5 separate regions of the Homo sapiens genome follow, and regions 1, 2, 4 and 5 are each linked to region 3. Evidence: promoter capture Hi-C in human tissues and cell types (Jung and others, 2019). All regions are on one chromosome and are shown on one strand. Each heading gives the region's core, a stretch centred on a gene start or on the middle of the fragment in contact. The rest is flanking DNA. Distances are from core to core; before and after follow the strand shown.

Region 1 (4,920 bases), core at 1-2,500, 360 kb before region 3:
TCTGATATTCAATTACTTCCGCAGTTTTAACACAATTCCACATGTAACGGCATCGGTCAGCATTATGTCCCACTGCTATTCCAAGCATACCCTGTGCTCCAGCCACAGCAGTCTGCTTATTTTGCACGAAACACATGGCGTGCTTTTGCACCTCCAGGCTTTGGTTCACCCCCTTTTTTTTTAATCCACCTGGATTATGTTTCCCCTCCGTCTCTACTATTCTAAATCCCATCCTCCCCTAATTTCACTTGCCACGCTATCTTCACTAACCTTCTACCAAACGTATTATAATTATTTGTGCGGTTATCATATTTCCACACTGGATTCTTAATTCTGCTAAAACGAAATACTGTAATGCCTTTGATGAGCCTTCCATGTGCCAGCCATGTGCTAAGTGAGCTACATGCATTATCTCATTTAATCCTCAAATCGCCATCTAGGTCAGGACTCTCCCATTTAACATTAAACAAACTGAGGCTCCGAGAGATTAAGTAGCTTGCAGCTTTCACGCAGCTAATTATGGTGGAATCAGATTCCCTCCCCGAGGTTCAACTTGTATTAGTTAGGGTAGCCAGCATAATATATTCGCCAGCTACGCTGCACTCAACCTGTGTGTGCCGGATCAGCATGTTAAAAACGGTGTCTGCAAGTAGACCAAGGGAAGAGGGGCTGCGGGGGCGGGAATTGAGACAGCAATGAATTAGGATGGCGGGATTGGCGGTGATGTTTCCAAATTTCCACTGTTGGGTTGTAGAGCTTCTGAAATAAGCATTTAAAATGTATAGTTACTAAACAAGATTGCATCTACCCTTGGTCTAATTGTTATGTGTAGGTTAGTTTTGTCTCCCTGATTTTATTGTCATCCCCCAGGGATTGTTTCTGTTCTCCCGCGTTCCCAGAGCTTTCGGCGCATTGCTCAACACACGGTGTGCGTACTTGTTGATTTTAATGTATGTGTGTTTGCATATGTGCACAGCAGCTGGGCGGAGGACGTGGGTGTGGGATGCACTGTGCATTCCTTCTCCTCACTCTTGTTCCTTTGAGCAGCTGCAGCCTGGATGCTTTCCCTTAGGGGTAGGGGAGAGGCAGAACCGCTGACCCTTTAACAAGTTATCCCTCACAGAACAGGTGTCTCCCCCGACTCTCGGTGGAGAGGGATGGCTGGATACTTAGTGACATCAGCCACGAGCCAATGGGAAGTCGGGCTCCAGCCGTCGCGCCAATGAGCGGCCGGGGGCGGGCCGGGTTTCCTGGGCGCCTGGCTGGCCGGGCTGGTCCTGCGGCCGCGGGTGAGTCTCGTCCGCTCGCGCTGCCCACCGCGGCTCCAGCAGCTCCAGGCGCGGTTCCCCGGCCCGCGCCGCTCCCGGCCCCCCGGCTCGGGCGCCTCCCGCCGCAGCGCAGGCTCCCCCGCCGGCCGGGCTCCTGCGCGGCGCGGCTCGGCTCATGCCCCCGGGCGCGGGGCACACAGGCCGGCCGGCAGCCGCTGGGAAATAGGCCCCCGGGGGCGGTGGCGGCGGCGGGGCCATGGCGCGGAGACCCCGGGCGCCGGCCGCCTCCGGGGAGGAGTTCTCCTTCGTCAGCCCGCTGGTGAAATACCTGCTCTTCTTCTTCAACATGCTCTTCTGGGTGAGTCTCGGGGTCGAGGGCACCTGGGCGGCGGGGTCCCCCCGCGGGGTGGAAGGGTGGCCCGGGGTGCCCCACGCGCGGGAGCCGCACTGCCGAGTTTTCTGGGCTGACGGCACTTTGGGGGAATTTATCCTGGGGAGGGACACCCCGGGGACGCCGCGTCTGCAGGGGGCGTTGTAGGGAGGAGGGTATGCCAGGGAATCAGTAAAGACTGATGGGTATTCTCGGGGCGTCGGAGGAGGGTCTGTGTTAGGCTAGAAATGTGGGTTTGAGGGAGCCTGTTGGCCCAAGGCGGACCCACTGACACATTCATGATGGGGGTCGGGGGTGGCGGCTGACTTTCAGGCCTGGGGGCCTGGAGGCCCGGCTGGCAAAGAAAGAAGAGGAAGGAAAAACCCAAACCTCTCTCTCCACCACCTCAGAGAGGATGGGTTACTGGCATCATCTCTTCCTTTTGCAGGCCTCATCTACCCCCACCTCCACCCCCCCAAAGTCTAGGAAGAATGGCCTCCAGGTGCAGATGTCTTTCCCATCCCAGCACTGCCCCAAACTTTGTCCCCTCCCTGCCACCCTTCTCAGGACCAGACTTCACCCCTGGAGCCTGGCAATCACCAGTGTCTTTAAACAGGACCCCGTGTTGGGCCGGAGGGCCAGGGGTCCTTTCAGAATCTTCTGCTTGGGGTGGAAAAAGTATTGGGCTGGGACTCCGGACACCTGGATTCCCATCCCACTCTGCCGTTCATTGTTGACTTGACCGACCTAAGCATGTATGTTCATGTCTGCAGGCCTTGACTCCCTCCCCCACAAATCCAACCCAGTGTGATCAGGGGTGGCAGAAAGACTGCTGAAGCTGAGAATTGAGCTGAACCAGATCATGCAATGCCAGCTCGACCCTGTTTCCTGGCTAGAGAGTCCTGGAGGTCCTGGGGTGTGAGAACATAGGGACATCCTTCCCCCATTCACCTCCTCTTCTGGCTCCTACCACACCAGAGCTGCTGCTTCTGGAGCCCACCATCCTTGCCCACTTCAGCTGGAGACCTAAAGTTCAGACTTGCAGGAGGGAAGAATTGAGTCTAAAATATGTTTCCTAGGGGAGGGAGCAGAACAGACATCTAAGCCATTTGCTGGAAAGGTTTCACAGGGCCCGTGGGGTGAGGTGCAGACACAAAGCCCATAAGTGCTGGCCTGTTGGGACAAATGAGAGAAATCCCATAGGGTGGTGATGACAGCGCACTCAGCCATCCTACTCCTGGGGAAAATGAAACTTGTGCTCCTATCAAATGCTCAGTTGTAAAACTGGAAAAAAATTTTAGAAGACATCTTGTCCAGCATCTGTGTTTATGTCTATAAAATGTAGAAAACTAAAGCACAGAGATGTTAAATGTTTTGTCCAAGGTCCAACAGCTGGTTAGCAGGCTTGGTCTGGTGACCTTTCTACTGAACCACAGTGCCGCTGGGGGAAGTCCTCAGCACAGATGGCTGCTGCTATAGCTGGGGTATGGGCAGTATTAGTAGTTAACCAGTCAACCCAAGTTCCCATAGTCTAGGTTCTGCTTCAGCTGGAGGTTAGGGAAAAACACAAGAAAATCCCTTACCACTCTACCAGTGCTGGGGGATGTACTAAGAGACTCCCCACTTAGGGGCAAGTATCAGTGAAGTCTCTGTGCTCACTGAGTGTGCCAGGCCAGTGACGTGACATCCTCGGAGCCAGCACTAGCATTTCAGGGACTTTAGGTCGTCACTCTGACTTCCTTTATCTGCCGAGACTGTCTCCCTTGGAGCCATTGGTACCTCACCCTTGTCTGTGCTCGCCAGTGACAACAGCTGGGTGCATCTGTTACACTTGTGTTCCTGGTCATTTTTTTTTTCTCGAGCTTCCCTACCCCCTACCTCCACCCTACCCCCCTTTTATCGGACAAACGACTTTGAGAGATCTCAGCCAGGAGAGAGTTTGGCTCCACAGACCCATTTACCTTGGTAAAAATGCTTCATTCAAGGTCAGAAGACGTGGGTGGCCAAGCTAGCACCACCCCAAATTAGAATAGAGCCCCTTCTTGGCCCTACAGTAGACTCATAAAAAATCAGAGGCTCTAGAAATAGCACACTGAAAGACAAGAGGCTCAGCATCTTTTTGGCACCAACTTACTGTGTGACCCTAAGCCAATGTATCTGTCTCTCTGACCTTAATCTTTCTCCTCTAAAGGAGAAACAATTTCTGCCTCAGTGAACTATTTAAGGATGAATGAATCATTTTGGGGACTGTTTTCTTTCTTCAAGACCTAGAGCTGGATCTAAGGATGAATCTCCCTGTGTCCTGATTGCCCTTCCTAGGGGACAGTACTTTTCAGGTGTTATTGAATGTCCCTTCTCCCCCAAACCCAGTGCTGCACAGGTATATTCATACAAGAGCAGCTGGAGAGAAAATGCTGCCTCCCCAGATCAGGGGGCCATCTTTCTTCCTAGCTCCTCTTCAGGGACTGGTTCCCATGCTTTCTTTTTTGTAGACTTCCACCATCCTAATCAAATTCTGCTCTTCTGCCCAGGAAGCACCTATGGATGAGATGATGGTCAGCCCACACCCTTTGCAGGCAGAGTGCATGCTCTGGCCGGCTTCTGGAGCTGCCGCATGGCAGTGGTTATTGTGTCTGTGCCTGGAACCCACTAGGAAGGTGTCCGGCATCCTCTGGGCTCTGAATAGTGGTGCTGGTGGTGATGGTGGCTACGTCTGCTGTTGCTCTAGAAGCCCTGACTCTTGGGGCATTTGGAGTCTGACTCAGAAAACTAATGAATTTTGGGGGACTGGGACCAGTTCCTACTGTTCATGTTTCAAATCTCACTTCCCCTTTGACCTGGGAGTTCTGATTTTCTTCCCAGAATCATGTTGCTGGGTTACTGACTGTGGGGATTCCATGGCCTGGAGTAGCTGCTCTAAGATCCTAGATGTTGCATTTAAATCAGTTAGGGTGGCTACAGAGCAGCTGCCTCTCCTCACCTCCCTCTGCAGGACAGCTCCGTGCAGATATTGGGGTGGTGCCTGCTTTCTCAGCTTGGCCATGTGTTGTCAGGAATATTCAGTGCCGCCCACCTCCTTCCTCGCTGGTCCTTTTCCCACTCAGGGCAGCAGTTGGCTGGCTTTTGAGTCAGGCAGAGCCCAGAAGCTCAGACCTCCAGCCCCTGTGTCTCAGCCCAGGCTTCCCTAGCAGCCATGCCTCAGGGCTCCCATGGCACCTTCTGTATTCTTCTATTGTCACATCCCTTACCTGTGCTGCAATTGTGTTTACTTCTCCGTCTCCC
Region 2 (4,511 bases), core at 1,400-3,899, 320 kb after region 3:
AGCTTGTCAACTGATGACCTTCACCAATTGTAATCTGATAGGGCGATTTCATTGGGAAACTCCTAATGTTAGTATCTTTGGGTCCTTCCTCTTGAGTTGGTCTGAGTACTTACAGAGGAGCCCTTCCATTTCCTGCCTGAATGGAATAAGCCTTGCTCCCAGGCTTGTGGGAGCTGCGTTAGGGAGGGAGACCGTGATACCATTCTGCACATTAACTGTCACTTTAAACCTAGATTTTTGGTATGGTAATTTCCCCTCAGCTGTGTTCATATCCCCTCCTAGCAGAATCCTCTAGTCTTCTGCTCAGCTGGGAACGGGTCAGTAGCCTGGGTACACAGAAGTGGGGAGGAGCTCTAGATCCCCAAAATGTCTTAAGCTTTCTTTCTTTCTTTTTTTTTTTTGAGGCGGGGTCTCACTCTGTCACCCAGGCTGGTATGCAGTGGCGTCATCACAGCTCACTGCAGCCTCAACCTCCCCGGGCTCAGGTGATTCTCCCACCTCAGGCTCCCAAGTAGCTGCAACTACAGGCTGTATGCCACCACACCTGGCTAATTTTTTTTGTAGAGATGGGGTTTCGCCATGTTGCCCAGGCTGGTCTCCAACTCCTGGCCTCAAGTGATCTGCCCACCTCAGCTTCCTAAAATGCTAGGATGACAGTCATGAGCCACCGCACCTGCTGTCTTAAGCTTTCAACTTGACCTCCTGTTACAGTCCTTCGTTTACCCCTCACTGATCAGAGGAACCTGGAACCACTGATCTTTGGGGTGGCAGTTTGCAGTGTTTTGTTTTTAATCTATTAAGTTAGCTACTACAAGTACACCTGTTTTCTAGTTTTCAATGGGTTGTTTGTTTGTTTGTTTTACAGACAAGGTCTCACTGTCCCCCAGGCTGGAGTGCAGTGGCGCAATCATAGCTCATGGTGACCCAGAACTCCTGGGCTCCAACAACAAGAATCTTTTTGTTGTTGTGCTATTGTTGGTTTGCCAATGTCTAATCTTCCTTACTTTTTATGTCTGTGGGTTATGTGCCTTGCCCACTTTTGTAACCCTCTACTGTCATTTTAGTGGGGTTTTGATGTCAGAGGAGTGAGATTAACCCGCATGGTCAATTGGTCATCTTTTTTTTTTTTTTTTTTTTTTTGGAGACACAGTTTTACTCTGTCAGCAGGCTGGAGGGGAGAGGCGCGATCTGAACTCACTGCAACCTCACCTCCTGGGTTCAAGCAATTCTCCTGCCTCAGCCTCCTGAGTAGCTGGGATTACAGGCACCTGCCACCATGCCTGGCTAATTTTTGTATTATTACTAGAAACAGGGTTTTGCCATGTTGGCCAGGCTGGTCTCAAACTCCTGGCCTCAAGCGATCCACCTCTCCTGGCCTTCCAAAGTGCTGGGATTACAGGCGTGAGCCACCACACCTGGCCATTGGCCATCTTTAATCGAAGGCCACCTTCTTCTATTTAAAGCTTTGGTTTAGATTTATTCTTTTATCTGCACTTTTGGAAGTCTCTCTTCCTAAGTGTCAAGATACCGCTTTTCCCATTTTGGCTACTGCAGACTCTAAGAGGACATGGTAAACTTGGGCTCATAACTGCACCTTTCTGTTCCTCACCTGAATACTAAAGATGTGTATTAGTCAGGATTATTGATTGCAAATGACAGGAAGGAGCTTGACGTTTTCCCCTGAAGGAGAAGTCCAGGGAGGTTCTCAGGCAGCCTCTCTGCAACCTGGTTCTAGTCTCACCAGCTTTGAGCTTTGCAGTCCCAGAGGGAAAAGGCTCTTCACTTTCCCAATGGTTTCAACAGAAGCCCCAGTCATGTGCTACTCTCTGAACGGAGTAGGGGACCTGACTGGCTGGCTGGGTCAGAGGGCCCCACCACTGCGGGGAGGGGGAGTTTTGGAGTTAGCTTCCAAGAACCACTTGGATGAGGTGAGGGAGGCAGGGTTGTTCCCTCAAATAGCATTGCAGTACTGATACCAGAAGAAGGGGGAACAGATGCTGGGTAGGCAGAAATAACAGGTGTCCACTGCAGGGTTATCATACCAGCCTCATGGCCTTGCTGTAAGTTAAACCCTTAGCTGGGTGCCTGAAACATTAAAACACTAGCTGCTGTTGCTGTTGTTATGACTGTCACTGTTAACAGGGAGACTTTGTGGCTCGCCTTTTTATCCTGAACAACACATTCCTTTGCTAGGGCCAGAAACAGGCACAGAACCTGTTTCCCTCGGCCTTCTGGCCATGCAGTTGGCAGCGAGGCTCAGCAAAGCCTCCTGATCCCATGCTCTTCTCTCAGTTGGGTCTCCTCTCCTTATCATCCCTGCCTCCTCCTCCAGGTGTCACACCTTGGCCTCACCCTTCTCACTGAAAGAACACACATGTACTTTGCCACGTACTTAGCCGCTATCTTGGAGTGACTACTTGGAGTGTGGGTGTTGTAGCTTTGTGATGGTTGCTCAAATAAGTTATAAACTGCTGGGGATTGGGCCAGGGTCTTACATGCCTCCAGCTAAACCCCTTTCTCCAAGGCCTAGAATGCAAACCTGGCCACACACAGGATCCAGTAAGTCCCAGGCAATTGAGGGGTCTAGCTGGTGGCAAGGCCTGGAGGGAGGACATCAGATCACCGGGCATTTGGCCCATCTCTGCCAGTTAAGGACTGAGGTCCACTGCTAGTCACTGTGACAGAGCCTGTTCTATATGTTGGTAAAGCCAACCTCTCCTATTCCTTAGTAATATTAATAGAATCCTGATTTTTTAGAATTGCAAAATTTCAAATATAGACCTTAAGACTTTTACTTAAAAACAGACTAAAGGCCGGGTGCAATGGCTCATGCCTATAATCTCAGCACTTTGGGAAGCTGAGGTGGGTGGATCACTTGAGGTCAGGAGTTTGAGACCAGCCTGGCCAACATGGTGAAACCCTTCTCTACTAAACCATTCTCTACTAAAAATACAAAAAAAAAAAAAAAAAAATAGCTGGGTAGGGTGGTACGCACCTGTACTCCCAGCTACTCGGGAGGCTGAGGCAGAAGAATCGCTTGAACCCAGGAGGCAGAGGTTGCAGTGAGCCAAGATTGTGCCATTGCACTCCAGCCTGGGCAACAGAGTGAGACTTCATCTCAAAAACCAACAAACAAAAAAACAGACTAAAGAAATTTTTATTATGAAAAATGTATAACCTATTTAAAACAGAGAATGGTATAAAGAATGCCACATAGCCGTCATTCAGCTTTAACACATGGCTAACCTTGTTTCTTCTATTACATTCCCACCCCATTATTGGATTATTCTGAAACAAATCTGGACATATAATTTCATCCATAAATTCAGTAAGTATTTCCAACAGGTGATTTTTGAACATATACACTAGTAAATATATACATATGCACAATATCATATAAAACACAATACCTTTATCACAAAACACAATACCTTTCTCACCTATAGAAAAATAATCACCAGGTGTGGCGGCTCACGCCTGTAATCCTAACACTTTGGGAGGCCAAGGCAGGAGGATGGCTTGAGCTCAGGAGTTTGAGACCAGTCTGGGCAACAGGGTGAGACCTCACATCTAAAAAAACCCCAAATAATTACCTGGGCATGGTGGCGTGCGCCTGTGGTCCCAGTTACTTGGGAGGCTGAGGTGGGAGGATCACTTGAGCCACGGAGATTGAGGCTGCAGTGAGCTATGGTTGTGCCACTGCACTCCAGCCTGGGCAATGGAGTGAGATCCTTTCTAAAAAAAAAAAAATCATAATTTATTCATATCATAACATACTACTTATTGTTTAAATTTCCCCAATTGTCTCACAATTTTTTAAAGAGCTGACTTGTTCTAATAAGTTCCAAAAATGCAAGGTCCACGTTACACTAGAACCCCAATTTTATTCAAGGGGGCAATGTGCCCAGGTGAAGAAGTATATTTCCCAACTTCCCCTAAGCAGGGTGTGGGCCTGTGGCTCAGTTTTGCCCATGAGGTTTAAGTGGAAGCGTGGAGGAGGCTTCCAAGACTCCTTAAAAGGAACTGTCAGGCCGTGTGTGGTGGCTCACGCCTGTAATCCCAGCACTTTTGGAGGCCGAGGTGGGTGGATCACTTGAGATCAGGAGTTCAAGATCAGCCTGGCCAACATGGTGAAACCCTGTCTCTACTAAACATACAAAAATTAGCTGAGTGTGGTGGTGGGCGCCTGTAATCCCAGCTACTCTGGAGGCTGAGGCTGGAGAATCGCTTGAACCTGGGAGGTGGAGGTTGCAGTGAGCCAAGATCGCACCACTGCACTCCAGCTTGGATGACAGATGAGACCCTGTCTCAAAAAAAAAAAAAAAAAAAAAAAAAAAAAAAAGGAGCTGTCGGCTGAGAGATGAGCACCTTTTCTCTGGAGCTCCAGCCACTGTATTGAACCATGAGGTGGCCTTCCAAATGGAAGTCAAAGCTAGAATGACAGACAGAAAGAATAGGAAACGAATTTCCCATTCTATTCTTATTTCCAGTCTTTATTATAGAATCATTTA
Region 3 (4,908 bases), core at 1,788-4,287:
TTTTTTTTTTTTTTTTTTTTTTTGAGAAGGAGTCTTGCTCTGTCACCTAGGCTGGAGTGCAGTGGTACAATCTCGGCTCACTGCAACCTCTGCCTCCCGGGTTCAAGCAATTCTTCTGCCTCAGCATCCTAGTAGCTGGGATTACAGGTGCCCACCACCATGCCTGGCTAATTTTTGTATTTTTTAGTAGAGATGGGGTTTCACCGTGTTGGTCAGGCTGGTCTTGAACTCCTGACCGCAGGTAATCCACCCGCCTTGGCCTCTCAAAGTGCTGGGATCACAGACATGAGTCACCGCGCCTGGCCGAGTCCTACTCTTAGAAGGGCCATAGGCTCGGGGTTTAGTGCTCTGAGTTTCACAGTGTGAAAATTTCTTAGTAATTTTACCTTTGAATTTTTGTTTTGTCAATGAAATCTGACGGGAAAATGGAGGCTGCTGGGGGAAGGGGGTTGGTGCCTTAGCTGCTGCTGAGTCTCACCTCTTGTCACCCCCCACTACCCCCAATCCCCACCTTCACCCTACCCAACCCCCAACCCCATCTAGGGCAGGGCATGGCAATACCCCCGTACATTCAGAGTGAGACACGCGAGCATCCTGTCCACCACAGTCATGACACCAAGCACATCCTGGCACAGAGGGTGCAATCCCTCGAGGGCCACCCATCTGCTATGGGACGATAGCTAGGAAGGGGAGTGTTCCCGTACCCAAGGAAACACATTAAACAGTAAACAAAAACAGCATAACAGGTTGATAGAGACCACAGAGAAAAGGAAAGCTTTCTAATTTAGTACCTTTAGTGGCACTTTTCCCTGCTTCTTCCTGTTTTCATTTTGCACTAAGCCATGCAAATAATGCAGCCAGCCCTGCACCTGTGTAGCTACTGCCACAATCAGGATAGAGAGTATTTCCATCACTCAGGAATTTTCCTCTTAGCCCACCGCAGAGTCAATCCTCCCCCACCCATGGCACACCTCGACCACTGATCTACTTTCAAGACAGCTGAGTTTTAAAACTTGTAGCAGGAGGCCAGAGCAGTGGCTCACGCCTGTAATCCCAGTGGGAGGCCGAGGCAGGCGGATCACCTGAGGTCAGGAGTTCAAGACCAGCCTGGCCCCTGTCTCTACTAAAAATACAAAAATTAGCCGGGCGTGATAGCGCATGCTTTGTAATCCCAGCTACTTGGGAGGCTGAGGCAGGAGAATTGCTTGAACCCAAGGGGCAGAGGTTGCAGTGAGCAGTGATCGTGCCATTGCACTCCAGCCTGGGCAACAGAGCAAGACTCCATCTCAAAAAAAAAAAAAAAAGAAAAGAAAAGAAAAAGAAAAGAAAAGAAAAGAAAGAAAACAAAACAACCTTGTAGCAGGGCTCTGGATCTCTGATCTGGAGCTCAGGAAAAGCAGGGCTGGAACAGATTTGGGAGTGATCCCATAGGGGTAACCTTGGGAGAGCTGAGATAACCCAGAGAAGTGTAAGCGGCTGGGGTGGGCCAGCCCCATCCAGGGATGAAGACAGGCGCAAGAAGAGAAGAAAGTGCAGGTGGAGGGCAGGAGAATTTGCCATATCCAGGGCATATGGACTCATAAGAAAAACTCACAGACATATTAAAAGTAGCTGGAAGTTGGGTTTGCTCTGTTAATGAAGGATTAGGGAAAGCATATGTAAGAGAACCTAGAACATAAACAGTCCTCTTTGGAAGCCAGTTTGTCTTTCAAGAGAAAGCAAACAAAACACCACATCCTTGCAGAGCCTTCCAGGACCCTACTCCTGCTTCTTGGTCTAGCCTCCTCCCCCTGTCCCTAATTTTGGCATAATTGACTGCTCCTTGTCATCCAGATCTGTTTTAACGTCACCTCCTCAGAGAGGCCTTCCCCAGTCACCAATCTAAAAGAGCACCCAGTGGTCACATCAATTTAATGCAATATGCCATACTGTCCCTATCACTTTTAATGTCTGCCAGGCCCTCCATTTCAGCCACGACCACCTCCCCCAAATCACCCCTTAAAAGAACAAGGACTTTGCCTCATTCAGAGCTCAATTTCCAGGGCCTGGAAGAGTGTCAGGCACGTGGCAGATGCTCAATAACTGTTGAATAAAAAGGAATGATAGGCCGGGCAGTGGCTCACGTCTGTAATCCCAGCACTTTGGGAGGCTGAGGCGGGCAGATCACCTGAGGTCAGAAGTTCGAGACCAGCGTGACCAACATGGCGAAACCCCATCTCTACTAAAAATACAAAAATTAGCCGGGCATAGTGGTACGCATCTGTAATCCCAGCTACTCAAGAGGCTGAGGCAGGAGAATGGTTTAAACTTGGGAGGCGGAGGTTGCAGTGAACCGAGATGGCGCCACTGCACTCCAACCTGGGCGACAGAGAGAGACTCGGTCTCAAAAAAAAAAAAAAGGAATGACCAGTCATAAAAAAGAATGAGTCGTACCACCCGAAGTGTAGACTTCACCTGCAGGGAGGGAGGCTGGAACTGGCAAGGTTGGAGGCAAAACTGTACCTACTGTACCTTTCTCGCCCAATCCTACCTGCACATGAACTCCCTCCCCACCCCTTTAGTCTCTCGGGCCCTTACTCTCTTTATCCGGCTCTTTTGCAAACATTTCCCATGATATTCTCCCTTCACCGTCACAGTCCTTATGCTCGTTTCCCAAAAGAGCTTCTCCGATGATCTCTCCCAGGTTGGCCGAGTGAGCGGGCCTAGCCTGCGCTCTCACCCCAGTGCCACCCCAGTGGGAGCGCCGCCCGCGCCCGCCCCCTCGCCCCGCGCCCGCCCCCTCGCCCCGCGCCCGCCCCCTCGCCCCGCGCCCGCCGCTCCGGCAGCCCAAACCCAGACGCTAAAGCGCCGAACTGGGTTTCCGGGCGCTGGAGGCCGCGGTCGGCCTCGTACTAGGTGACGGCCCATCCCGCGCGCGCAAGCCCGGAACCCCGCTCCGCTCACCCTCCGCGCGCTGCCGCTTTGCCCTGGCAACGGTAACCACGGCGAGGCCCTGCCCCACGCCCGGTGATTGTGCGCGCGGCCCCGCCCCCGAGGCGCACGCCGGCCCAGCGCCCACAGCTGCGGCGGCCTAGGTGCCGCGTGGGGCAAGCAGGTGCCTCGCGTCCAGGCGGCTCCGCGGCTGGCTGCCTCCCGAGCCGGCCGCGCTCCTCCCAGCGAGGCGTGGCGGGGAGGCGTAGTGAGGCTGGGCCCGTGGCGGTTCCCTGAGGAGGGCCGAGAAGGGGCCGGGGGTGCTAGGGGAACGGGCGCTGGGGGCAGCGGCCCCGGTGGATGCTAAGGGCTTCGGGATCGGGAGAGTCCACCACGCCTGCCTGCTCGGCTGAGAATCGCCATGGTAATCCCCGTCTCCCTAAAGTACCCGGGGCCAGGGCGCGCGCCGTGGAGCCCCAGGCTGTCCCGGAGAGGCGCGGGCGCCGAGGTCACCGCCTCTCCCTGGGGTCGACCTCAACGCGTGGCGAAAAGATGGAGGGACAAGGGGTGCCCGGCGGTCCGCGCCTGCTGGGGGCGCAGCAGCCGCGGAGTCAGGCCAGCCGTCTTTCCAGGTTTTAGGTCGTGGTCCTGTTGAGCAGCCCCCACACCCAGACGGTTGATGTGGAAAATAAAGGGAGGGTGGCACCGTGGTGTGGCACGTCAGGGCGCCAGGCCATGCCCACAGTGACGGGTCCGAGCTGTTAGCTGCCGTAGCCACCCTGGGTGCCCGCGCGGGATTCTCCACTGCTCTGCAGACTCAGGAAGCAGAGAGTGAGCCTGGTACCACCACCTTGCTGTCAACAGCATTCCTGTTCTCAGCCCTCATCCAGTCACTTACGACCTCCTTCCAACCCTCGCTGCTCTTTCCAGAAGGGCTGTGACCTTCCAGCCCCTGCCCCAAGTCCTCAGGGAGGCATCATTGTCTGCTAAACTAAGTACTGCACGCTTGAGCTGGGCGCACAGAGCCCTTGCTAAAGGGGCCTCAACCTCGAGCTTTCTCTGCCATATCTTCTCTGCTAAACAACAACAAACAAAACGAACAAAAACCCTGCATCCCACACTAAACCCGCGTTCTTCTGGAAGCCCCTTGCGCCTTCCCTGTCTTGATCCGTTTTCTTTGAGGCTTGGATCAGAAGGACCCTGCCTCCTGCTTCCCCATCGCTCCTTCAGCGCCCACAGCCCTTTGCACCTCACCTCTGGTGCTTTGCCTGTTTTTCCTTGGAAAGCCTTATTCCTCATTAGACTCTAGTGTAGAAATCATTAAGTTTCTGTGTTCTTTCCAGTTTGTTTCGTGTAAAAGGATTAAGTAAAAATTTCTTGGTTTGAGAGTCATTCCATGAGCTATTAAAGGTAAAGAGCTATTACCTTTTTTTTTTTTTTTTTTGACAGGGTCTTACTTTGTCACACAGGCTGGAGTACAGTGGTGTGATCACAGCTGACTGCAGCCTCCATCTCTGAGGCTCAAGTGATCCTCCCGCCTCAGCCTCCCAAGTAGCTCGGACCGTAGGCAGGCATCACCATGCCTGGCTAATCTCTGTATTTTTAGTAGAGACAGGGTTTCGCCATGTTGCCCAGGCTGGTCTCAAACGCCTGGGCTCAAGGGATCCGCCCGCCTTGGCCTCTCAAATTGCTGGGATTACAGGTGTGAGCCACTGTGCCCAGCCAACTGCCATTTCTTTCAGGGCCCAGGGAACTGAGGCAGAATGCTGTACATAGCCATTGAAGCAAATGCCAGTTAATTCATGCTCCTTGAATGAGGGTCAAACACATTAGTGCACAGAGCCTGCAAGCCAGAGCGGAACCTTGCCTACCTTTCCTTCCTTAGCTGCTCTCACTGGCCCCCTTGGCTGCCTGTGGGCTGGCCATGTTGGCCTTTTTTGGGTTTCCGTCTCTTTGTGCACCTTCTCTCCGGCTTCAGAGACTTTGCATAGGCTGTTG
Region 4 (4,574 bases), core at 1,739-4,238, 260 kb after region 3:
CTCCAGTAGCTGAATTCACCTGACTTTTCAACAGGCCAAATCTCTGAACCTTGAGTACAGGGACAGCTCCTCCTCCCTCCTCCCAGCTCTCCCCATGTGTGTGATGGTGTATTTAATGTGTTTTTTTAATGCGACATTAAAAGATTCTCCACGTCTTGCTCAACCTTTGAGAGAAGTTTCAGATTCTTGTATTTGCTTGTTTTATATAAAACTATCTAATGTTCTTTATATGTTCTTTTCTGTACGTAATGGGGGGAGGGGAGGGAAATTTACATATAAATAGTCCTAGTTCTACAATTTGTTATTTTTTTAATTATTATTTTTTATCGTCATTGTGAAGTTGTCCAGGGACTTTAAAGTCCATGTTCCTTTGTGGTGAAATAACCTCCAAATAGTTTGAGAAGTTGCCAAGACGAAGAAAAAAGCAAAACCCCAGTAGCAGAGCATGGATTCTGTGTTGTTTCCCATTCTGTCTTTGACTGCCTCATTCAATAAATAGTTAAAAATGTGGCAACAGGAAGTGGAATTGTTCATCTCTATAGGAGCTCTTGGCTTCTTAGGCAAAAGGAACTCTATCTTGGGGCAGCTCGTTCTGCGTTTAAAATGCAGTCCTACTCGAGATCAGCGGTCTCCGACCTGTGCCACTCCGACGCTGGGGACCTCCGTAAAGAAGACACTGAAGATTGCCCAGAGCCCCCTGCGAGCCCCATCACCAGACCTGCTCCATTTCATACATTTCATATATAACGTGTTTTCTTATACTGACGTTCTGGGGAAAAAATCGTATTTAAAAAATCCTAGGCCGGGCACAGTGGCTCCCGCCTGTAATCCCAGCACTTTGGGAGGCCAAGGTGAGTGGATCACTTGAGGTCAGGAGTTCCAGACCAGCCTGGCCAACATGGTGAAACCTTGTCTCTACTAAAAATAGAAAAATTAGCTGGGCATGGTGGCGGGCGCCTGTAATCCCAGCTATTCAGGAGGCTGAGGCAGGAGAATCGCTTGAACCCAGGAGGCGGAAGTTGCAGTGAGCTGAGATCACACCACTGCACTCCAACCTGGGCAACAGAGCGAGACTCCATCTCAAAAAAAAAATAAAAATAAAAAATGAGGGTGAGTGATGGTGCCTCTCCATCTTGGGAATTACTATTAAAGTGAATTGTCTTTCTTTCTCCAAGCAGAAGCCTCAAGCCATGACTTGTTCCCCTGCATCCTCACTCCCTGGTTTCTCACACAGCTTACTCTCTTAACATGGCATATGCCATCGCTCCAGCTGTTCCTCCTGCCCCATCCTTAGGCCCTTCATAGACCCCAGTAGCCTGCACCTCCATGCTTCTGCATGCCCTGGCCTCAGCCTGGAATGACCTGCTGTCACCCCCACCACCCTTTCTTTATATTGTTGGGTGTCTTGGCCACTTTCCTGGTGACCATGATTAGAATGCTTGCTTGGATGGGAAGGCCAAGAAGCCTTTTCCTTGATGCCTGATGGTGGTTCAGTGAAGCCAAGTGCCTACCTTTCCCCCTTCTTGCACAAATGGCATACCCTCGCCTATTTTTCACCAGAGACTGGACTAGAAAAAGGATTGAGTGCAGCCAAATCAACCACACATCCGTGCTATTGACTACCATGAAATAGCTGGGTTGTTTAGAATACCTGCTGACCAAGGGTCTCTCCAGAGGCGTCTTCTAGCTGCTGTTTGCCTGGCAAGCCTCAGATGCTGCCTTTGCCACAGGCATGTATTGACAACTGGTTTTGGTGGGGCCGATGGAGACCTCTTCCATTCCTGCCTAAGTCACCAACAGGAGCTGCTAACTCCGCTGTCTATAGAGACCAGGGAGGTCAAATCAATGAAGGAAGCTGAGGCAATTCCCATGTGAGAGGAGGGAGTGATGGGGACAGGCACAGTGGACAGCATCCATCTAAACGGGGCAGCCTGTCCTAGGTGCTGATTGTCACCATGCAGGAAGATGGACCCTAATGCCCCAACTTCAAAATTGTCCAGAGAATCTGGGGAATCCAGATTTTTGTACGAGATGTGATCGCAACAAATAAAAAATTTACATACTCTGCAAGCAAAATAAAACCCATCTGTAGACCAGACCTGACCTGACGGTCAGTTGCACTTAACTACGTGAATGCTTGTCATGTGCCAGGTGAATGAAGCATGGTAGTTGCCTGTGAGAAACAAGGAGTGAGGAGGAGACCTTTACATAAACCAACCGCTGCAGTCCAAGGTGATGAGGCACCATCTGGACAGAGCACTAGTGCAGAATGAGCTGTTTACCGCATTTGAGCCCTCAAAGGTCCTCTGTTACGTAGTTTATCATCTAGGCTCCACACAAGGATCTGGTGCTCACAGAAACCAGGAGACTGGTCTAAAAGTTACTGGCTTTAAGTCTTGCATCTGAGAAGGCCCACTGGTGATACAGGTGACTACTGGCATTCTCCAAACTTGAACAAATTAGCTGAGGAGAACCAGAAGGGCAGAGCAGAGGAGGGGTTCCTTGCCCTGGGCCTCACTCACGCCCAAGGAACGCTCTCTCCCCCTCTCAGTAATGCCTCCGAAGCTTGAGCTCTGGGCATGGCAGAGTCGTACCGGGCTCCTGGTGTTTCCTTTTGGTGTCAGCACCAAAACTCATCAGGGAGGAAACTGGAGCTTAATTATTTGGAGCAGAAGCTACGTGGGGTGAGGGAGTAGAGTCCGTGTTTTCCCTCTCACTCCACCTCAGCAGGCTGGTGGCACCTTGGTCATCACAACTGGGGCTTCAGATGCCCCATCCCTGCACTCCCACCCGGCCTCTGCTGTTTACTCCAGGAGGCAGCTCTTGGAGGTCACCCAGGATGCTGGCGGCAGCATGGAGGAAGGGGTACAATAGAGAGGGGAGGCAGGGCTCCGGGACTGGGCTCCGACTGAAATCACTGAAGAGCGTGGGTTTCCTCTTAGTCCCCAAGCCCCTCTGAATATGAGTTTCTCCATCCTGAAAACCACTGGGCTGCTACCAAACATTTGTTGAGTATTGGAGGCCTGGAATATATAGTGAGGAAAGGAGGAAGAAGGGATAACAGTCATCTGCAGAGGGGAACCAAGGTGCCCTGAGAACCTAGAGCCTCCTTAGGAGGCAGGAATAGGCCTGGGTCCTGAGCCCTCTCCAGGGCTCAAGCTTTGCTAGCTTGCTTACGAGAACTATGGTTTGTCTACACAGAGTGTATGGTAGCAATGATAACAGTGAACACTTAGCCCTTACAATATGCCTTGTACTGTATTAAAAGATTTACCTATATATTAATTTATTTAACCTTTACAAAATACTATCATCCCCGTTTTATAGATGAGCAAACTGAAATACAGAGAGGTTAAGTTAAACAACTGAGCCAAGTTCACACTGCTGGTAAGAGGCAGAGCTAAGGTACAAACCTGGGCGGGCAGGCTGGCTGGTCCCAGAATCTGTGCCTAGAAAAACATGACTTGAGCCTCATCACTCTGTCACCCAGGCTGGAGTGCAGTGGTGTGATCTCGGCTCACTGCAACCTCCACCTCCCGAGTTCAAGCAATTCTCCTGCCTCAGCCTCCCTAGTAGCTGGGATTACAGGTGCCCACCACACCCAGCTAATTTTTTTGTATTTTTAGTAGAGATGGGCTTTCACCCTGTTGGCCAAGCTGGTCTTGAACTGACCTCAAGTGATCCACCTGCCTCAGCCTCTCTTAAGTGCTGGGATTACAGGTGTGAGCCACTGCGCCAGGCCCCGATGATACACTTTTCTTGTGGCCTGGAATGGATGAAAGTGGAGGGTATAAGAGCATTCAGTTGGGGCCCGGCGCAGTGGCTCACGCCTGTAATCCCAGCACTTTGGGAGGCCAAGGCGGGCGGATCACGAGGTCAGGAGATCGAGACCATCCCGGCTAACACGGTGAAACCCCATCTCTGCTAAAAACACAAAAAATTAGCCGGGCGTGGTGGCGGGAGCCTGTAGTCCCAGCTACTCAGGAGGCTGAGGCAGGAGAATGGCGTGAACCTGGGAGGTGGAGCTTGCAGTGAGCTGAGATCGTGCCACTGCACTCCTGCCTGGGTGACAGAGTGAGACTCCCATCTCAAAAAAAAAAAAAAAAGCATTCAGTTATTTTTTAAGTAGCTTAATTAATTTTTGGGAGGTTCTCCCCAAATTTTATGTACTTGGCAAATAAAATTTTTAGTGAAATTTAAGTTTACTGGGTCTCAACTGAAACTTCTGAATTTATCTACCCTTTAAGAAGCTTAATACACTTTAGGAGGCCAAGGCAGGTGTATTGCTTGAACCCAGAAGTTTGAGATCAGCCTGGGCAACATGGTGAAACCCCATCTCTACAAAAAATATAAAAATCAGCCTGGTGTGGTGGTCCATGCCTATAGTCCCAGCTACTCAGGAGGCTGAGGTGGGAGGTTCGCTGGGGCCCAAGAGGTTGAGACTGCCATGATCATGCCACTGCACTCCAGCCTGGGTGACAGGGCAAGACTCTATCCAAAAAATAATAAGTTACAGCTATCAATTACTAAATGGCTACTAGCATTTTACTGTGTAAAACACCTTACACCCTTAT
Region 5 (5,126 bases), core at 1-2,500, 380 kb before region 3:
CAAAGAGACCATGGAGGTTAGGCTCAGTCTTGTGCTTGCCTCCCTTTTCCGTGGTGTGGCACTGGGCACACTTCTGAACACAAATATTCGTGCTTTTCTCAACATCACCCATATTTAATTCTCTCTTTTGTCACTGGCACTGTGAAGGTTCCTACTCAGAAACCAGATGTCCTGCTCTCTCATTTTTCATTTCTTTGTGTTAAGAACATTCTATATCCATTTTTTAGCTACTTTTTTTTTAGACGGAGTCTTGCTCTGTTGCCAAGGCACACTCTCACCTGACTGCAATATCTGCCTCCTGGGTTCAAGCAATCCTCCTGCCTCAGCCTCCCTAGTAGCTGGGATTACAGGTGCATGCCACCCCACCCAGCTAACTTTTGTATTTTCAGTAGAGATGGGGTTTCGTCATGTTGGCCAGGCTGGTCTCGAACTCCTGACCTCAAGTGATCCGCCTGCCTCGGCCTCCCAAAGTCCTGGGATTACAGGCATGGGCCACTGTGCCTGGCCCGTTTTAGCTATTTGAAGCTATATATTGTTACATCCAGTCATCCTACAGTGGTATAGAACAGGGGTCCCCAGCCCCTGAGCCATGGTCGCATAACAACGGTCTATGGCCTGTTAGGAACCGGGCCACACAGCAGGAGGTAAGCAACAGGCTACTGAGTGAAGCTTTATCTGTATTTACAGCTGCTCCCCATTGCTCACATTACGGCCTGACCTCCGCCTCCTGTCAGATCAATGGCAGCATTAGATTCTCACAGGAGTGCGAACCCTATTGTGAACTGCACATGCCAGGCTCCTTATGAGAATCTAATGCCTGATGATCTGTCACTGTCTCCCATCACCCCCAGATGGGACTGTCTAGTTGCAGGAAAACAAACTTAGGGCTCCCACTGATTCCACATTATGGTGAGTTGTACGATTATTTCATTACATATTAATATTACGATGTAATAATAATAGCAATAAAGTGCATAATAAATGTAATGCGCTTGAATCATCCTGAAACCATCCCCCACTCCCTGGTCTGTGGAAAAATTGTCTTCCATGAAACCAGTCCCTGGTGCCAAAAATGTTGGGGACCACTGGTATAGAACTCTAGAACTTATTCCTTCTATCTAGCTGTAATTTTGTATCATTTAATAAACATCTCTCTAACTCCCACTTCCCTCTGCCCTTCAAGCCTCTAGTATCCTCTGTTTTACTTTTTACTTTTATGAAGTCAACTTTTCTTAGCTTCCACAAAGGAGTGAGAACATGCAGTATTTAACTTTCTGTTCCTGGCTTAATTCACTTAACATAATGTGCTCCAATTCTATCCGCATTACTTCAAATAACTGGATTTCATTCTTTTTTTAATAGCCGAATAGTGTTCTATTGTGTACGTATACCACATTCTCTTTATCCATTCATCTGTTATTGAACACCTAGGTTGAGTCCATATTTTGGCTATTGTGAATAGTGATGCAATAAACATAGGGGCACAGATGTCTCTTTGATATACTGATTTCTTTCCCTTTGAATAAATGCCCAGTAGTGGGATTGCTGTATCATATGGTAGTTCTATTTGTAGTTTTTTGAGGAACCTCCAACTCTTCTCCATAGTGGCTGTACTAGTTTACATTCCCACCAACAGTGAATAAGAGTTCCATTTTTCCACATCCTCACCAGCATTTGTTATTTTTTTGTGTTTCTGATAATAGCATCCTAACCAGAGTGAGATGATACTTCTTGATGGTTTTGATTTGTGTTTCCCTGATGATTAGTAATATTGAGCATTATTTTATATATTTGTTGACCATCCATTTGTATGTCTTCTTTTGAGAAATATCTGTTCAGATCATTTGCCCTTTTATTTATTTATTTTATTTATTTTTATTTTTTTTGAGACAGGCTTGCTCTGTCACCCAGGCTGGAGTACAGTGGCACGATCACAGCTCACTACAACCTCTGCCTCCCAGGTTGAAGCCATTCTCCTGCCTCAGCCTCCCGAGTAGCTGAGATTACACCCATGTGCCACCACCACACCCGGATAATTTTTTATATTTTTAGTAGAGAGGGGGTTTCACCATGTTGGCCAGGCTGGTCTCCAACTCCTGACCTCAAGTGATCCACCCTCCTGACCTCAAATGATCTGCCTGCCTTGGCCTCCCAAAGTGCTGGGATTACAGGTGTGAGCCACCATGCCTGGCCCATTTGCCCATTTTTTAAATTGAATTATTTGCTTTTTTGCTATTGAAGTGTTTGAATTCCTTGTATGTTCTAGATAATAATCCCTTGTTGGATGAATAGTTTACAAATATTTTCTCTCATTCTGTTGATTGTCTTTTCACTCTATTGATTATTTCCTTTGCTGTGTAGAAGCTTTTTAGTTTGATATAATCCCATTTGTTTATTGTTACTTTTGTTGCCTATGCTTTTGAAGTCTTATAAAATCTTTTCCCAGACCCATGTCCTGAAGCATTTCCCCATGTTTTCTTCTAGTAGTTTTATAGGGTTGGGTCTTACATTTAGGTCTTTGATCCACTTTGAGTTGATTTTTGTATAGGATGAAAGTCAGGAATCTAGTTTCATGCTTTTGCATATGAATATCCAGTTTTGCCTCAACCATTTATTGAAGAGACTATCAATAAGGGTTCTTGGCACCTTTGTCAAAAAACAGTTGGTTATAGATACATGGATTAATTTCTGGGTTCTCTATTGTTCCAGTGTTCTATGTGTTTGTTTTTATGCCAGCGCCATGCTGTTTTGCTTACTACAGCTTTGTAGGATATTTTAAAGTCTGGTAGTGTGATGCCTCCAGCTTTCTTTTTGCTCAAGATTGCTTTGACTATTTAGGGTCTTTTGTGGTTCCATATACATTTTAAGATTTTTTTTCTATTTCTATGAAGAATGTCGTTGGTATTTTGATAGGAATTGCATTAAATCTATAAATTTCTTTGTGTAGTAAGATTTTGTTCTGAATGCTAAAACTGTAGGTATAAATAGGATGGCACTGCTGGCCCAGAGGAAGGCCTGATTAGCCAGGGTGCCCCCTAATAGCTCTGACTTCACTAGTACCCAACCTTCTCTCAGTACTTTGAGGGATTAAGACAAAAATATCACATCATAAGTCTGATGCTGAAACAAGTTTGTTCCTTTAATGAGATAGTTTTTGACAAATTGGATCCAACATCTCCTGTTAAAATGGAAATACATATTTAGAGTCGTGGTAGGGCAGGTAGACAAGTAACAAGCCTGAGTGGCCATCACCACATTGGTATGAATTAATTTAGGAACAAAGAAAAACTTCCTGGGAGGATATGATCTATAATGGGATGGTTGGGGGGGGGGGTTGTTAGTGGTGGTGGTAATGGGTTATTTTAGTTTTGAATGTGTGTGTTGCAGGGAAGGAAAAAGGTTGGTGGAGAGTTCAGAGCCAAAGCCATGCTGAATGACAGGTGGAAGACAGTCTGATGGATCATAGTCACTGTTCTTAAAGAATACATAATTCAGGCTTGCATGAGACAAGATGAACCACTGACATCCTAATTTCTCAAAGTAGTCATTGGAAATGGAAAGAAGAGCCAGGATTTATTGGAGGGTATATTCACACAGAAGGGGTTCATGAAGGTGAGGGACCCTTTCACCTCCCCACTGGGCAGAAAGCACTTGCCAGAAGAAAGGGTTGCAAAAGAAGGTTGAACTCAGCAAGAAAAGTGCCTTGGGTCAGTCTCTGTACTGCTAAATAGGGCCTACCACCCTACCCTGCCAATCCCTACATAGGCCCTGTCTTCAGTAAACACTAGAGTTCGCTTACCTTCCATTCCAAGAACCAATCTGACATCTGCTGTATTAGTCTGTTTTCACACTGCTGATAAAGACATACCCGAGACTGGCTAATTTACAAAAGAAAGAGCTTTAATGGACTTACAGTTCCACATGGCTTGGGAAGCCTCACAATCATGGCGGAAGGCAAGGAGGAGCAAGTCACATCTTACATGGATGGCAGCAGGCACAGAGAGGGCTTGTGCAGGGAAACTCCTATTTTTAAAACCATCAGATCTCATGAGACTTATTCACTATCATGAGAACAGCATGGGAAAGACCTGCCCTCATGATTCAATTATCTCCCACCCAGTCCCTCCCACAACATGTGGGAATTCAAGATGAGATTTGGGTGGGAACACAGCCAAACCACATCATCTGCTGTGCCTCATCCCACAGATAGCAGAGCTTCCTCCTAATCTATCAAGAGTTCAGCATTTAGTGAGTGGTCAGGATCTCACCCTTCATTTAACCAACTAACCACCACCAACCAACCACCACCATCAGAGGTGGGCCTAAGGCAGGCCTTGGGGTCTCTGGGAAGTGGGCCATGCTCAGTCTACATCCCAATGTGCTATGGCTCCTGACACTCTGAGCAGGGGCTCTCCCTTGCACACACCAAAGGAATGACTGGGCTTAAAAAACGTGCCAACTTGCTTATAAATCAGTCTCCTCAGATTCTACAATTCACCGAGCCATAAAACCTCAGAGCTTCAAAGATGCTTAGAAAATATCAAGGCCAGGGTTCCCAGGAAGCCTCAATGCTGCCATTTTACAAAGGAAGAAACTGAAGTGCAGAGAGATTAAGGGGCTTGTCCAGGTCACACAGCTACTTAGTGGTAGATCTGTAACTAGAAAGGTTTCAGTTCACACTCAATGTTCTTTCCTCTAGAATCTAACCTCTGCCCCCTTGTTATTTTTGGCATGAGAGAGGAGGATTATATTTATGTCTCTAGAAAAGCTGTGCTTTTGGATTGAATTCTGATTTTCTCTTCTCAAGTCTCATTGAGAACCACATGAAAAAACTCTGCTGGATTTGAGTTAAAAAAAAAAAAAAAAGAATCTGAAGAAAAAAATAGCAAATCTGGTATCCTAATGAGATAATGAATGCACAAGTACTTTGAAAGAGGTACAGCACTTCAGTGCTTTTCAGATATGAGGTTTTGTCATGCTCTTGAAAGAAATGCATAGGCTTTACTGACATGGGGGCTGGGGCTGGGGCTGGGGCCCTGGCAGAAATGGGGAAGCACAGGCTGTGGCAAGGGGGGTTTCTCCAGAAGGCTGACTCATTTCTTGGCTGTCCCAAGCTTAGAGAGCCA

What was found. Contacts are between HindIII fragments. The study calls those that stand out against the background at their distance.
Region 1: the fragment with the promoter of TSPAN33 here is called in contact with the fragment with the promoter of SMKR1 in region 3 in 3 of the 25 tissues and cell types used here (IMR-90 fibroblasts, adrenal gland and small bowel).
Region 2: a contact is called between a fragment that was not itself captured here and the fragment with the promoter of SMKR1 in region 3, in 2 of the 25 tissues and cell types used here (bladder and spleen).
Region 4: a fragment that was not itself captured here is called in contact with the fragment with the promoter of SMKR1 in region 3 in 2 of the 25 tissues and cell types used here (H1 embryonic stem cells and aorta).
Region 5: a contact is called between a fragment that was not itself captured here and the fragment with the promoter of SMKR1 in region 3, in 1 of the 25 tissues and cell types used here (hippocampus).

The regions. Positions count from the first base shown.
Region 1 is chr7:129,143,457-129,148,376 of GRCh38, forward strand. TSPAN33 (tetraspanin 33) reads left to right here and starts at 1,251. Exons shown (of 8, transcript NM_178562.5): 1 at 1,251-1,626. The coding sequence starts at 1,525. RefSeq lists a silencer at 1,164-1,373 and an enhancer at 4,236-4,285. The HindIII fragment of the contact is 23,252 bases long and covers 1-4,920 here.
Region 2 is chr7:129,819,725-129,824,235 of GRCh38, forward strand. No RefSeq gene overlaps it. Among named protein-coding and RNA genes, the nearest start is that of MIR183, 47 kb to the left of the region's middle. The HindIII fragment of the contact is 7,353 bases long and covers 1-4,511 here.
Region 3 is chr7:129,499,494-129,504,401 of GRCh38, forward strand. SMKR1 (small lysine rich protein 1) reads left to right here and starts at 3,038. Exons shown (of 2, transcript NM_001195243.2): 1 at 3,038-3,334. The coding sequence starts at 3,332. RefSeq lists silencers at 2,737-2,786, 2,847-3,186. The HindIII fragment of the contact is 29,122 bases long and covers 1-4,908 here.
Region 4 is chr7:129,756,563-129,761,136 of GRCh38, forward strand. NRF1 (nuclear respiratory factor 1) reads left to right here. Exons shown (of 11, transcript NM_005011.5): 11 at 1-514. Among named protein-coding and RNA genes, the nearest start is that of MIR182, 12 kb to the right of the region's middle. The HindIII fragment of the contact is 3,652 bases long and covers 1,163-4,574 here.
Region 5 is chr7:129,117,716-129,122,841 of GRCh38, forward strand. It overlaps the pseudogene CYCSP20. Among named protein-coding and RNA genes, the nearest start is that of TSPAN33, 24 kb to the right of the region's middle. RefSeq lists an enhancer at 4,520-4,689. The HindIII fragment of the contact is 4,977 bases long and covers 1-3,739 here.